Linked DNA regions of Homo sapiens: region 2 is linked to region 1. The links are contacts of gene promoters, found by promoter capture Hi-C in human tissues and cell types (Jung and others, 2019). All regions are on one chromosome and are shown on one strand. The core of a region is centred on a gene start or on the middle of the fragment in contact, and the rest is flanking DNA. Distances in the headings are between cores, read along the strand shown.

Region 1 (6,496 bases), core at 2,118-4,617:
CGGGAACAAAGATTAGCCGGCCGAGATGAAAAATTACCCCGGACAGCGGCGCAGCCCCGCGCGGAGCCCCCTGCCCGCCACCACCGCCCGCGCCTTGGTGTCCCGCCCTGCCCGCGGCCCGCAGCTCATGCCCAGCCCATCCTCGCCCGGCGCCCGGCCTCCCGCGCTTCCTTCGAGCTTGGCGGCTAAGCCCTGTCGGCCTTTCCATCTCAGTCTGTCCATCCCATCCTGCCCATCTTTCCTTTGCGTCCCCACTCTTCTCTCTGGGGCCCTTCTCACGTCCCTCTTCTCGCATTGGCTCTTTGCGCCTCTCTTTGAATCTCTCTATTTTTGTCTTATCTCTCTGTCCTCTCTTATCTCTCTCCTGTCTCTGTCCATGTCTCTGTGGTTATCACCTTCTTTGCTTTTATTCCCATCTTTCTGACCCTTTCTGCCACTTTTTAGTTGTTTATTTCTGTCTGTCTCCAAGTGTCCCCAAGCTCCAGGCCTGTCCCCACCAGTGCCTCTTCCTCATTGTTTTTTTAAAATCTGTCTTTGGGCCTCCCATCTCTTTCCCCACTCCTTGTCTCTCTGGATCTTTCTGTCACTGAATCTCCATTTCTCTTCATCCACCCCACCCTGAGGGCCCCACATCTCCAGGCCTCATACCTCCTGCCCTCTCAAGGCTGTGAACCTGGCCACAGACCAGAGACTGGAAGGCTCCAGCCAGCTCTGGCCTGGCCAGCCCAGCTCCGCCCAGTAGGCAGGAGGCAGGTGGGGTGGGGAGGTGCAAGGCCTGGAACCCCCTTTCCAAGGAAACAAGACAGAAGTAGAAAAGGCCCTGTAGGCACCCAGGCCCTGCTCCTGTGCTTCAGACAAGCTCGCCCATGCCCCTCCCCAGTGAGGCCCAGGGCCTTGGGATCGGGTGGTCCCAATGAGGACACCTCATTAGAGCAGTTATTCAGCATGGCGCTGGCGACAGCAGATAAGCCTTATCAGCTCATCTCCCCTCCCACAGACAGACAGAAAGTGCCCGAGCAAATGGTACCCTAGAGCTCCACTGGCGGCCTGCCCTGCTGGTTAAGGAAGGTCTGGATGGTGTGTGATCCTGCAGGATGCACACCCCGCGTGTCACCCAGGACACACTTTTCTACAGTCCACAGAACAGGGCACTGCTGGCCACAGAAACATGCATTTCAAAGATGTAGTCATATACACAGTTGCCCACAACCCAGATACGCAGACACAAACACCCACCGCAACACACATCAATTCATACATGGAGCTGTACGTAGACATGCAGACACACTCGGATACATCTCCTCCTCCCCACCATCAGTTCAAAGATACAATGATATACACTGATACCTATGCTGTTAAAGACAGATGGACATGCACATAGCCAAATGCATGTTCAAATACACAAACACAAACACACGCCCCAACAGCCATCAATTAATAAAGAGAATTATACATGGATATCCAGACACATGCAACACACCACACACACACACCTACACATACACCAGTTCAAGGACACATGCAGATACCCAGGTACAAACTATTAAAGACACACACAGGCTAGGCGCAGTAGCTCACGCCTATAATCCCAGGACTTTGGGAGGCCGAGGTGGGAGGATTGCTTTAGTCCAGGAGTTTGGGACCAGTCTGGGCAACATAGTGAGACTGTGTTTCCACAAAAATAAAAATAAAAATAATTAGCCAGGCACGGTGGCACATGCCTGTGGTCCCAGATACTCAGGAGGCTGAGGTGGGAGGATGGCTTGAGTCTGGGAGGTTGAGGCTGCAGTAAGCGCTGATTGAACCGCTGCACTTCAGTCTGGGTAACAGATCAAGACCCTGTCTCAAGAAACAAAACAAAACAAAACAACAACAACAACAAAAATACACACAGTAACACATGCCTAGATACATGCACATACACACGCAAACACACACTCCAAAACACACCCATTCATAGACATGCCACACACTGCTACAGACACATGGGCAAACACCTGGAAATCCCCACCCCTCATTACATGAGTCTCTGACATGATGACCCCACAGACACAGAGCCAAAGGGACGCACAACCATTTCCACAGACACACTCTCTTGTGCCAAATTCCAGGGTCATGAAATAGCCACACTGTGACCTACTGCCCAATACACAAACTCTCAGGAACCCACAAGAAGAAATGAACATACTCATACACCCAGTTTTGCAGACACTCCTGTGTGCTCCTAAGTGCACACAGACACACCTGGGCACACAGGACATAGACTCTGAGCCACATGCATAGAACACACACACAATGCAATAGTCACCACCAGATTTGGAGAAAGACCTATGGACAGCAGGGGTCACAAAGACCAGGGGACAGAAACACTCCTCTGGGGCACACCTGGGCACGGGAGCACAGATTTCCCAGTCCTTCCAAGCCCAAGCACTTTCCCTCTGGGCTCAAGGTCCCCAGGCCACTTTCACTCTCCCTGATCTGCTGGAATGGGAATCAGGGGTGGGGGTGGGGGGACGCTGACTGGTTGAATCCCTTAGTAAGAACTTTGGCAGCACAAGGACTGGACTGTCTTTGCCCACAAACCCAGGGGCCTTCTGGGGATGAGGACTCCCACACTCACTTTCTCCCCCCCTCCTGACTCCCACTTCTGTGAACAAGCCCTCTGCACACTTCCTTGCTTCCCCCATTGTGAGAGTCTGCCCCAAGGAGATGGGCCAGGGGGACACCAGACAGTGGACTTCTAAAGTGCTCAGGGGGTCCCCCAGCGTTAGGAACTGGAGGGGGGGTGGGACAGGGAGAGGGGCTGCGCCTGCACTTAGCTAAACAAGCCTGGCAGTGAGGGCGTCCTGAGTGTGAGCCCGAGTGCCGAGTTGCATCTGATTGTATGGCCATGTGTGTCGGTGTGACCCAGGCCGTCTGTCTGAGGATGTCCTCGCGGCCACAGCTGTGTGCACATGTGCAGGGATGTGTGCGTGTCCGTGTGAGCACTCCTGGAAGTGGGTTGAAGACAGAGGAGCGGGCGTCTGTGTACCATTATCAGTGAGTGCGTGTGCTCACAGCTCCTGAGGGTCCCCGGGGAGAGTCTCAGTAAAGACGTGTCCCAAGCTTTCTGAGCAAGCATCCCTGAGGTCAGGGGCGCGCGTGTGCGCTCCGGAGAGGGTGGGAGCGGCCTGGAGTGTGGATGCACAGGGTGTGCGCGCCCTGAGTGCCTAGCGGCCCTTGGCCGGCCAGGCGGCTGGACCTGGTAGGCCGGGTGCAGAGCCCCGGGTACCCTCCTGCCCCCTGCGGCGCTCCCGCCCCCGTCGCCACCCCCTGCCCCCCCGCAAAGTGATGTCGAAATAAAAAGCCGCGTTGCGGCCGGTGGGGGAGAGAGAGGCAGCGTGAGCGCCAGGAAGGTAGCGAGGCCAGCGTCGCCCCGGGACTCGCTGCTCAAGTCTGTCTATTGCCTGCCGCCACATCCATCCTAGCAGGGCCCCGTCGCCCACCAGGCGGACAAAAGCGGTCCGCTGAACACCATGCGGCCGCTCGGCGTGCCGCCCAGGCTCTGCTGGTGAGCGCCGCCACCCCGCGCCCAGGTCCCGCGAGCCCGCCTGCCGCGCACCTCGCCCTGCTCCCAGCTCTACTCCAGGCCCCGTCCGCCCGGGGGCGCCGCCCACCGCGCCTCGCTCGGTGAGTTTCTTCCACTTCCACCTTCCCTGGGCCCGGCCCTTCCCGCCCCCGGCCCGGCCCGCCTGGCACCCGAATCGCTTGGTCCGTTTGCCCTGTGGCCCCTACCTTTGGGGCTCGCCTTGGCCCTGCCAGAGACCGGAAACCCTGGTTATAGGGACTTTAACCAGAGGGAGTATTTGGTTACCTGGGCACAGCAGGCCCGCCTCGGGCCTCTTGTCTTCCCATTTCTCGGAGCCACAGGCCACGAGACCCTGGCATTCCCAGAGCCTCGCAAAGCACCCCCGCCTCCCGGCCCCCGAACTGGGGCCTTTGTCTCGGCCGCCCCCAATCCCCAGGCCACCGCGGCGGATGCGTCCGAGCCGGGCCGCCGAGCGGCGGCTGCACCTGCCGGCTGGTCCCGTGCGCCGGCTTTTCGCGGCTTAACCCAGCTCGCTCCTGCTTGCGCCCCCGCGCGCTGCGCCCCGCAGCCCTTTATCCTGTGTGACTGGGGTGCGTGTGGGGGAGAGCGCCGGGTCTGGAAGTCTCCCCCCGCCCCAAGCCGGAGTCGGAATCCGTTTAGTGGGATTTCAATAAGAATGGGGCCGCCGCGGGCTTGAAGATCTGCCGCCGGTAGGCGTAGACGGCGTTCTGGATCTGTCTGAAAACGGGGCATTTAAAATTATTCTGTGGCGGCCAGGCTTGAACTCCGCGTTGCTCCAACCACGAGGGGAAAGGCCCCGCGTTCAGGGACCCCGTGTGTGGCGAACGCTCCTTTACCGGAAAACAAGGAAGGAAATTCGTTGTTTTGGAAAAAGCCTCCTCTCCCGAGGTCGGGAACATCTGGTGGTGAGCTCCAGGTCTACGCAGGCACCCCGTGCTAGGATTCGTTTATGAGCAGGCAGGATTCGAGAACCAGGTAGGGCCCGTGCGGCAGCCGAGGCGTCTGGGGAGCGTTTCCCAGCCGGGCTGACAAATTGCAGACAAATTGTGCCTAACGAAACGGATTTACCAGTTGTCAGGCCGCCGGCCCCGGCCGCTCCAAATAAACCGTGGCTGTTCGTGGAGGAGGGAGAAGCACGGCCCGATTGTCTCCGGGTCTCAGCAGGGTTCCGCGGGGAGCCTGCCAGGCTTGAAGGTAGGGGTCAGAAGCGATATAGAATCTCGGAGGCGCCTGGGTCCAGGGTGCCGAGACACCTAGGACGTGGGGGCCACAGACTCTACGATTCCCAAAGACACAGAACAGTAATGAGGTGGGAGAGCCTGCACTGATGCCGAGGGAGGGAGCCTTCTGCTTTAAGGGGCTGGAATTGAACCTCAAGGAGCAGGAGGGGCCGTTATAGCAGTAGTCCCCCCCTTGGGAACCCCCCCGGAGGGATGGCTGCTGGCCTGAGATCTAATGCCCCGGCTTTAAGGGAACTTCTGAACCCATCTGCTAAGGCACCCCACTTCCTCCCCGTACCCCTCAAGGTTTATTGCCAGTGTGGGGCTGGGAGGCCGCTGGGTTGCGAATTAAATTTCTCTATGGAAGGTAGTCCCTTAGCAAATGGGTTTCCTTGACACCCCACCCCCAGCCCCACACCGCGGGCCAATTAGCTGCCCATAAGGAAAAGGCGAGAAGAATTAGGTTACAAAGGGAGGGCAAACTTATGGTCCCAAAGGGGCCGCCTCGGATGAGCTAACTTTAAACAAAGGGCTCAGAGGGGGGGGGGGGCTGGACGGCCGGGGAGACCTGGGCATCTCTGTGTCCCCACCTGGCACCCGCGGCTTAGTAGAGGCCTGAGAAGCACTCTAGAACCGGGCACCAGATCTGCTACCTCCCCAGCTCCCAGGCAGAAGCACCCAGGTCAAATGGTGGCGATCGCCGCTGTGAGTTCTCGGGCCAAAAGGGTCCTTCGAAAATTCTGCTTCCTGGCTGACCTTCTCCAGTCCTCAGAGAAATCTTGTTCCCAAGTAAGGAAAGTGACAGCTTCTTAATGTGATCAAAGGCAGCGCCAGCATTTCCAACTATACTCCCGAACGAACAAAGTACTGAAAAAGGGAACGCGTCCCTCTAAAGGTGTTTTGGGGACCCCAAAGTTCCAGCCCATAAATTGGAGTAAATCTGCTCTCACCAGGCCTGGAACAGCGCCTCAAGACCCCAGCAGATTCTGGGGGCTGCGTTGACCCTCCCCGGGAGTTTGTTTGGGGCCCAAGGTGGGAGGACCATGTCTTCGGCCTAATGGGGAGGGGCCCGGTTGGTGTCCCTCGGTCTGCCTGGCACACACAGACATTGTCGAGCGCGGGTCCCTCTTTATTGGCCAGCTGGGCGCCCTGCTACTTGGCGTCGCATTTCTCTCTCCCAGGCGGGTTCGTTTCCGCCAGAGAATGCAGCAGTCCCGCATCCTACGCAGGACCTGCAACCGAGGTGGAGGCTTCGGTCAAGCCGGCTCCTGCCTGCGTTGTCGAGGAAGGCAACCCCAAGGCCTGAAAGGACCTGGCAGAACTCCTGTTTCCTTTTTTTCCTCTACACCGGATTGCGGGCAAGGAGGCTGGTTCGGGTCTCCCGAGGCCCCTGCTCAAGCACTCCTTAACCGTCCTGCTAAGCCCCTCTGTGCGGCGATTTTCTGAGCTGCCGAGCGGGGTAATTAAATCCCCTCCCTCGCTCCGCTCTGCGTCAGGCAGGCGGCAGCACAGGGCTGACGTTTGGGCAGGGGACTCAGCCAGGCTGGCCACCTCCACTACCGCAGTGGCCGGGACCCTGCCGCGGAGGGGTTAGACGCCGAGCTCGCTGCGCTGAAACTGGGAATACACACGGAACGGGGAGGGGGAGGGTAATTTTTACCGCGCCGGTGGGAGAAAAAGGCGAATT
Region 2 (6,376 bases), core at 2,445-4,944, 480 kb after region 1:
TGCCTAGGCTGGAGTACAGTGGCGTAATCTGGGCTCACTGCAACCTCTGCCGCCCAGGTTCAAGCGATTCTCCTGGCTCAGCCTCCTGAGTAGCTGAGATTACAGGTGCGTGACACCACCATCAGCTAATTTTTGTATTTTTAGTAGAGACAGAGTTTCACCATGTTGGCCAGGCTGGTCTTGAACTCCTGACTTTAGGTGATCTGCCTGCCTTGGTCTCCCAAAATGCTGGGATTACAGGCATGAGCCACCCTGCCCGGCCAAATTGTTATAGTCAAAAACACAATTGACAAGGAAATTTGGATATTTCTGTGGTTTATAATAACATAACCATAATTATTATTGATAACATATACTCAAACATATTAGAATTTTAGAAATCCCATATAATTTTGGAACATATATTAATATTCACTAAAATATAAACTGAAGTAGATTAAATTTTTTTTAAAATTTTTGACAATGTTTCCCATGTAATGAAACATGTCAGATAATCTTGTTTACCTCTCTTTTGGATTCTTCAGGGGTCCTCTGTAGCATCTTAAAGCTAGAGGTCAGAAAAGACCATTTTGAAGCTGAAATTTGATTTCGGGAAGGCTATCAAATATGTTAAAGGTTTAAAACACTTGATATTATGAAATAGAATTCCAGGTTTCCATAAGTCATTCATTTAGCCACAATGATGACTCGAATATTTTTTTAAAGGCAAAACCTTTACTCATTGATAGAGGGAAGACTTAGCTTTCCAAACAATCTGTCTCTTTTCTTTCCCTTCTTTTGTTCAGTAGTTTATTCAAAAGGCAAATGAAAAGCTTCATTATCTGTTAATATGCATGAAAATCTTGTTCAAGAGAGAAAGCTAAACTTCACTCTTGCATTAGTTTACTATTAATGTTAACCCCAATTTTTAATAAAACCTTACAGACAAATCTTTCCAATCTTAATCAGTTTGACCATAAGATGAGATTATCATAAACCTTTTGTAACCCTTTACAAAGTTTTGTTAAAGAGCAGATCAGGCAGGGCACTGTGGCTCATGCCTATAATCCCAGCACTTTGGGAGGCCAAGGCGGGCAAATCACCTGAAGTTGGGAGTTTGAGACCAGCCTGACCAACATGGAGAAACCCCATCTCTACTAAAAATAAAAAATTAGCCAGGTGTGGTGGCACATGCCTATAATCCCAGCTACTTGGGAGGCTAAGGCAGGAGAATTGCTTGAACCCAGGAGGCAGAGGTTACGGTGAGCCCAGATCTCAGCATTGCACTCCAGCCTGGGCAACAAGAGTAAAACTCTGTCTCAAAAAAAAAAAAAAAAAAAAAAAAAAAAAAGAACAGATCAGTGATTTAAGGAAACCCTGTTTGTGCCTTTATTTTGATGTTCAATTTATGGAAAAATTGGAAAATACTCCTTTAAATTTAGTCAATATGTTCACATACAGAATTTTTTTTAACAACATTAATTTTTACAAAACTTCCACAACTTGTTCAAACCTTTAGCTTATTCTTATCTAAAACAATCCTTTAGCTCTCTAAACTATGCAAAAATTTACATTCCCATGCTTTCTTAGAATCTTTTACCAAAAACACATTTCATTCTCCTCACACACCTTGCATGTAAAACTATTTCTTCAGTAGTCTCAATCACGTGTTACAATGGTAACTCTTAGCAACTTTTACTTTTGGTGCATAAATTTTCTTTCACAAATCCTTTCACAATGTACACAAGCCATCTACAACATGCATGGACTTTCTGACTTGTCCTAAACATCCCTCTTTTTAAACAACAAGTTATTTTACTGGTTGTCCCCAGGCCTTATTTGGATTTTTTTTTTTTTTTTTTTTTTTGGAGACAAAGTCTCACTCACTCTGTCACCCAGGCTAGAGTGCAGTGGTCTGATCTTGGCTCACTGCAACTTCTGCCTCCCAGGTTCAAGTGATTTTTCTGCTTCAGCCCCCTGAGTAGCTGGAATTACAGATACATGCCACCACACCCAGCTAATTTTTGTATTTTTCATAGAGACATGGTTTCTCCATGTTGGCCAGGCTGCTTTCGAACTCCTGGCCTCAAGTGATCCACCTGCTTTGGCTTCCCAAAGTGCTGGGATTACAGGTATGAGCCATGTGCCTGGCCCTTATTTAGAATCTAATGCTCCAAAGTAGGTAAATTGAATAATTTTCAAAAGCCTAAGAAGCAGTTTATGACCTTAAAGCATTTAGCAAATCAAATATCTAACCTGCCTAATTTAGACCAAATGTCTTTATTTTACCAATAGTCTTTAAAGCTGTTTTTATTTCCCCAAGATTACTAAAGTTATGTGAACTAAGACATTACAGTTTTTACTTTTCTGCCAAAATATTTGATTTAAGTGCTTAGTTTTCTTAAAGCCAATTAATTAGAGCTCTTTTATATAAACATCACACACACAACACATATATAACTGCACAGACAGACAGAAGTAGTTGTAAGATTTTTCATTTGCCAATTTTTAAGTTGTGTGTATGCGTGTGTGTGTTTTTTGTCTTGAGACAGAGTCTCACTCTGTCACCGAGGCTGGAGTGCAGTGGCGTGATCTTGGCTCACTGCAACCTCTGCCTCCTGGGTTCAAGCGATTCTCCTGCCTCAGCCTCCTAAGTAGCTGGGATTACAGGTGTGTACCACCACACCAGGCTAATTTTTTGGATTTTTAGTAGAGACGGGGTTCCACCATGTTAGCCAGGCTGGTGTCAAACTCCTGACCTCGTGATCCACCTGCCTCAGCCTCCCAAAGTGCTGGGTTTACAGGCATAACCCACTGTGCCCAGCCAAGTTTTAAGTTTTTTAAGTTGGATTACTGGCTTTAGAGTGGAGTCCTAGGGTGGAAGAACAGGGCCAGGAAAGCCTGCAATTTCTAGAGCCTAATAAGCAGGCACAGTTGGAAGGGAAAAACAGATCCCATTTTTACACCAGATCCTGGATCCTAAAAAGAACAGAGCCTTAGATTTTGAGGAGGATCTATCCATTTCCAATTCCTGAGGTTCCATGAGGAAAAGGGATTTTTTTCCAAAACAGGTCTCTGGAGCCTCCTGTTTTTCCCAAGGAGTCCCAGGCTGTTAGAGCTTTAATATCCAGTTTTAATTAAGCTGACTTTTAACTATAGTGCTCTTTTTAAAATTCCTTTTAAATCTTTTATTATGCAGCCTTGCCTAGGCCAAATGCACAGTATTTCTGTGCTCAGAGAAAGGAAAATTTAAGATGGTTCATGGAGGGGAAGAGAATCAACAAATGGTAAGGATTACACAGATATCAAACCAGAAAGTACTCATTTCCTAAGGGAATTGAACCCTGAACCTGGGCCTCCATTATGAAAAGGGAAAGCATGGCCACATGGTTATAAGGTCAGGCTCCCAAGGACATGACTGACCAGTTTTCTGGGCCATCTTGAACAGTGGGTTTATGGTGTCCTAGACACATGCTTTATCCTAAGGTACTCCCTTTCACGACAGAACAATACAGAAAGACACATAAAGCACACCAGGTTCACTACAGCTTAAGACCAGCCTCAGAATTCTTTTTTGTGTTAATCAAAACTTTAGAGAGGAGATAAACAGTGATTTTTACCATTTATTTAACCAGTTTTCACAGAGAGAGAAAGGTCAGAGTCCGACTGGTAATAAATTCTTACCCTTTTGCGGGCATGCCAGGCTCCTGGGTTCCCTTTCCCTGAGCAACCCTAGTGACCCTGCTTGCCACACTATAGCCCTGGGGGCCAAGCCACATCATAAAGGAAAATCATCTTTTTTTGTTTTATGGAATCAGGCAAAAGCCTCTCAGTTTTGCAAGTTGCTGCTCAAGGGGTTGCATGGGGTAACCCAATTAACATTTTTCATTCTGGCCAGAGGAAAATATGAGTGACAAAACATAGACATTGGCCACGCTGTTTAGCACCCAATATTGAACTGGCAAGGCTTGCCCTCAGTTGGACCCTGTCATCTTTAATCTATTTTTAACCAAGAGGGACTTTACTGAGGGGAGGCCCTCTAACTCAATCCCATCCTTTACTCAAGTAAAATGTACCCCATTACTTATCCAAAGTCAGCCAATTGGTGCTGCAGTGTATTTCCTTTGGATCAGGATTCCTGTGCCTAATATATAAACTGGAAGGAACTCAGTTTTTCAGAAATTAAGAATTCCGGCTGGGCATGGTGGCTCATGCCTGTAATCCCAGCACTTTGGGAGGCCAAGGCGGGTGGATCACCTAAGGTCAGGAGTTCAAGACCAGCCTGGCCAACATGGCAAAACCCCATCTCTACTAAAAATGCAAAAATTAGCCAGACATGTTGGTGAGTGCCTGTAATCCCAGCTATTCAGGAGGCTGAGGCAGGAGAATCACTTGAACCCAGGAGGTAGAGGTTTCAGTGAGCTGAGATGGTGCCATTGCACTCTAGCCTGGGCGACAGAGCGAGACTGTCTCAAAAAAAAAAAATTGTGAAAAGGTACCCCTGTATAGGGCACTCACCAGGGATGGAGCCTTGTGGGACTGGAAGTCGCCCTGGGTGAGTCAGTGAGTCGGTGAGTGAGTGGTAAGTGAACCTGAAGGCCTAGGGCAGTACTGTGCACTATAGCAGACTTTATAAATGTGTGTACTTAGGCTACACAAATTTATAAAATATATTTTATTTCTTCAATAACAAACTATGTTTAGCTTACTGTAACATTTTTACTTCAGAAACTTTTCAATTTTTTTAACTTTCAACTCTTTTTTTTTTTTTTTTTTTTTTTGAGACAGAGTCTCGCTCTGTCACCCAGGCTGGAGTACAGTGGCGCAATCTCAGCTCACTGCAACCTCCACCTCCAGGGTTCAAGCAATTCTCCTGCCTCAGCCTCCCGAGTAGCTGGGGTTACAGGTGTGCGCCACTATGCCCGGCTCATTTTTGTATTTTTAGTAGAGATGGGGTTTCACCATGTTGTCCAGGCTGGTCTTGAATTCCTGACCTTGTGATCTGCCCGCCTTGGTCTCCCAAAGTGTTGGGATGACAGGCGTGAGCCACCATGCCCAGCCACTTTCAACTCTTTTGTAATAACACTTAACTTAAAACACAAACACATTGTACAATCATACACAAATATTTTCTTTCTTTATATTCTTATTGTATAAACCTTTTTCTATTAATTTTTTTTTTTTTTTTTACTTCTTAAACATTTTTTTCAGAAACTAAGACACAAACACACACATTAGCTGAGACCTGCTACACAGGGTCCCGATCAGTGATATCATTACCTTCCACCTCCAACTCCTGTCCCACTGGAAGGTCTTCAAGGACAGTAACACTAATGGAGCCGTCACCTCCTGTGATGACAATGCCTTCATCTGGAATCCCTTCTGAAGGACCTGCCTGAGGCTGTTTTATCACTAACTTTTTTTTTAATAAGTAGGAGTATGCTCTAAAATAATGATTAAAAAGTAAAATACAGTAAATACATAAACTGGTAATGTTACTGGAAAGGGGTCATGATCCAGATGCCAAGTGAGGATTCTTGGATCTCGGGCAAGAAAGAACTCGAGGCGAATCTGTAGAGTAAAGTGAAAGCAAGTTTATTGGAGAAGCGAAGAAACAAAAGAATGGCCACTCTGTAGGCAGAGTAGCCCTGAGGGCTGCTAGTTGCCAATTTTTATGGTTATTTCTTGATGATATGGTAAATAAGGGATGGATTATTCTTGTCTCCCCTTTTCGACCATGTAGGATAACTTCCTGATGTTGCCATGGCATCTGTAAATTGTCATGGCGCTGGTGGGAGTGTAGCAGTGAGGACGAACAGAGGTCACTCTCATGGCCATCTTGGTTTTGGTGAGTTTTGGCCGACTTCTTTACTGCAACCAGTTTTATCAGCAAGGTTTTTATGACCTGTATCTTGTGCCGACCTCCTAATTTATCCTGTGACTTAGAATGCCTTAACTGTCTGGGAACGCAGCGCAGTAGGTCTCAGCCTTATTTTACCCAGTCCCTACTCAAGATGGATTTGCACTGGTTTCAATGCCTCTGACAGTAACACAGTCGTTTATTAATAGGATCAAGTATTATGTACTGTACATAATTGCATGTGCTGGGCTTTCATCCGACTGGCAGTGCAGTGGGTTTGTGTACACCAGCATCACCACACACAGAGAGGAATGTGTGCGATGACGTCATAGCTGATGTGACGTCACTAGGCGAGGGGGATTTTTAGGTCCTTTTTTTTTTTTGAGACGGAGGCTTACTCTGTTGCCCAGGCTGGAGTGCAGTAGCACGATCTCGATTCACTGTAACCTCCGTTTCCCGGGTTCAAGCGATTCTCCAGCCTCAGTCTCCCGAGTAGCTGGGATTACAGTCTCACGCCACCACACCCAGCTAATTTTT

What was found. Contacts are between HindIII fragments. The study calls those that stand out against the background at their distance.
Region 2: a contact is called between a fragment that was not itself captured here and the fragment with the promoter of GATA2 in region 1, in 1 of the 25 tissues and cell types used here (lymphoblastoid cells).

What each region holds. Positions count from the first base shown.
Region 1 is chr3:128,490,072-128,496,567 of GRCh38, reverse strand. It overlaps GATA2 (GATA binding protein 2), which reads left to right and starts at 3,367. Exons shown (of 6, transcript NM_032638.5): 1 at 3,367-3,669. The region is part of intron 2 of GATA2-AS1 (GATA2 antisense RNA 1); the gene reads right to left. RefSeq lists a silencer at 3,568-3,657 and enhancers at 5,429-6,238, 6,239-6,496. The HindIII fragment of the contact is 13,259 bases long and covers 1,295-6,496 here.
Region 2 is chr3:128,012,042-128,018,417 of GRCh38, reverse strand. No RefSeq gene overlaps it. Among named protein-coding and RNA genes, the nearest start is that of SEC61A1, 37 kb to the left of the region's middle. RefSeq lists an enhancer at 6,373-6,376. The HindIII fragment of the contact is 7,137 bases long and covers 126-6,376 here.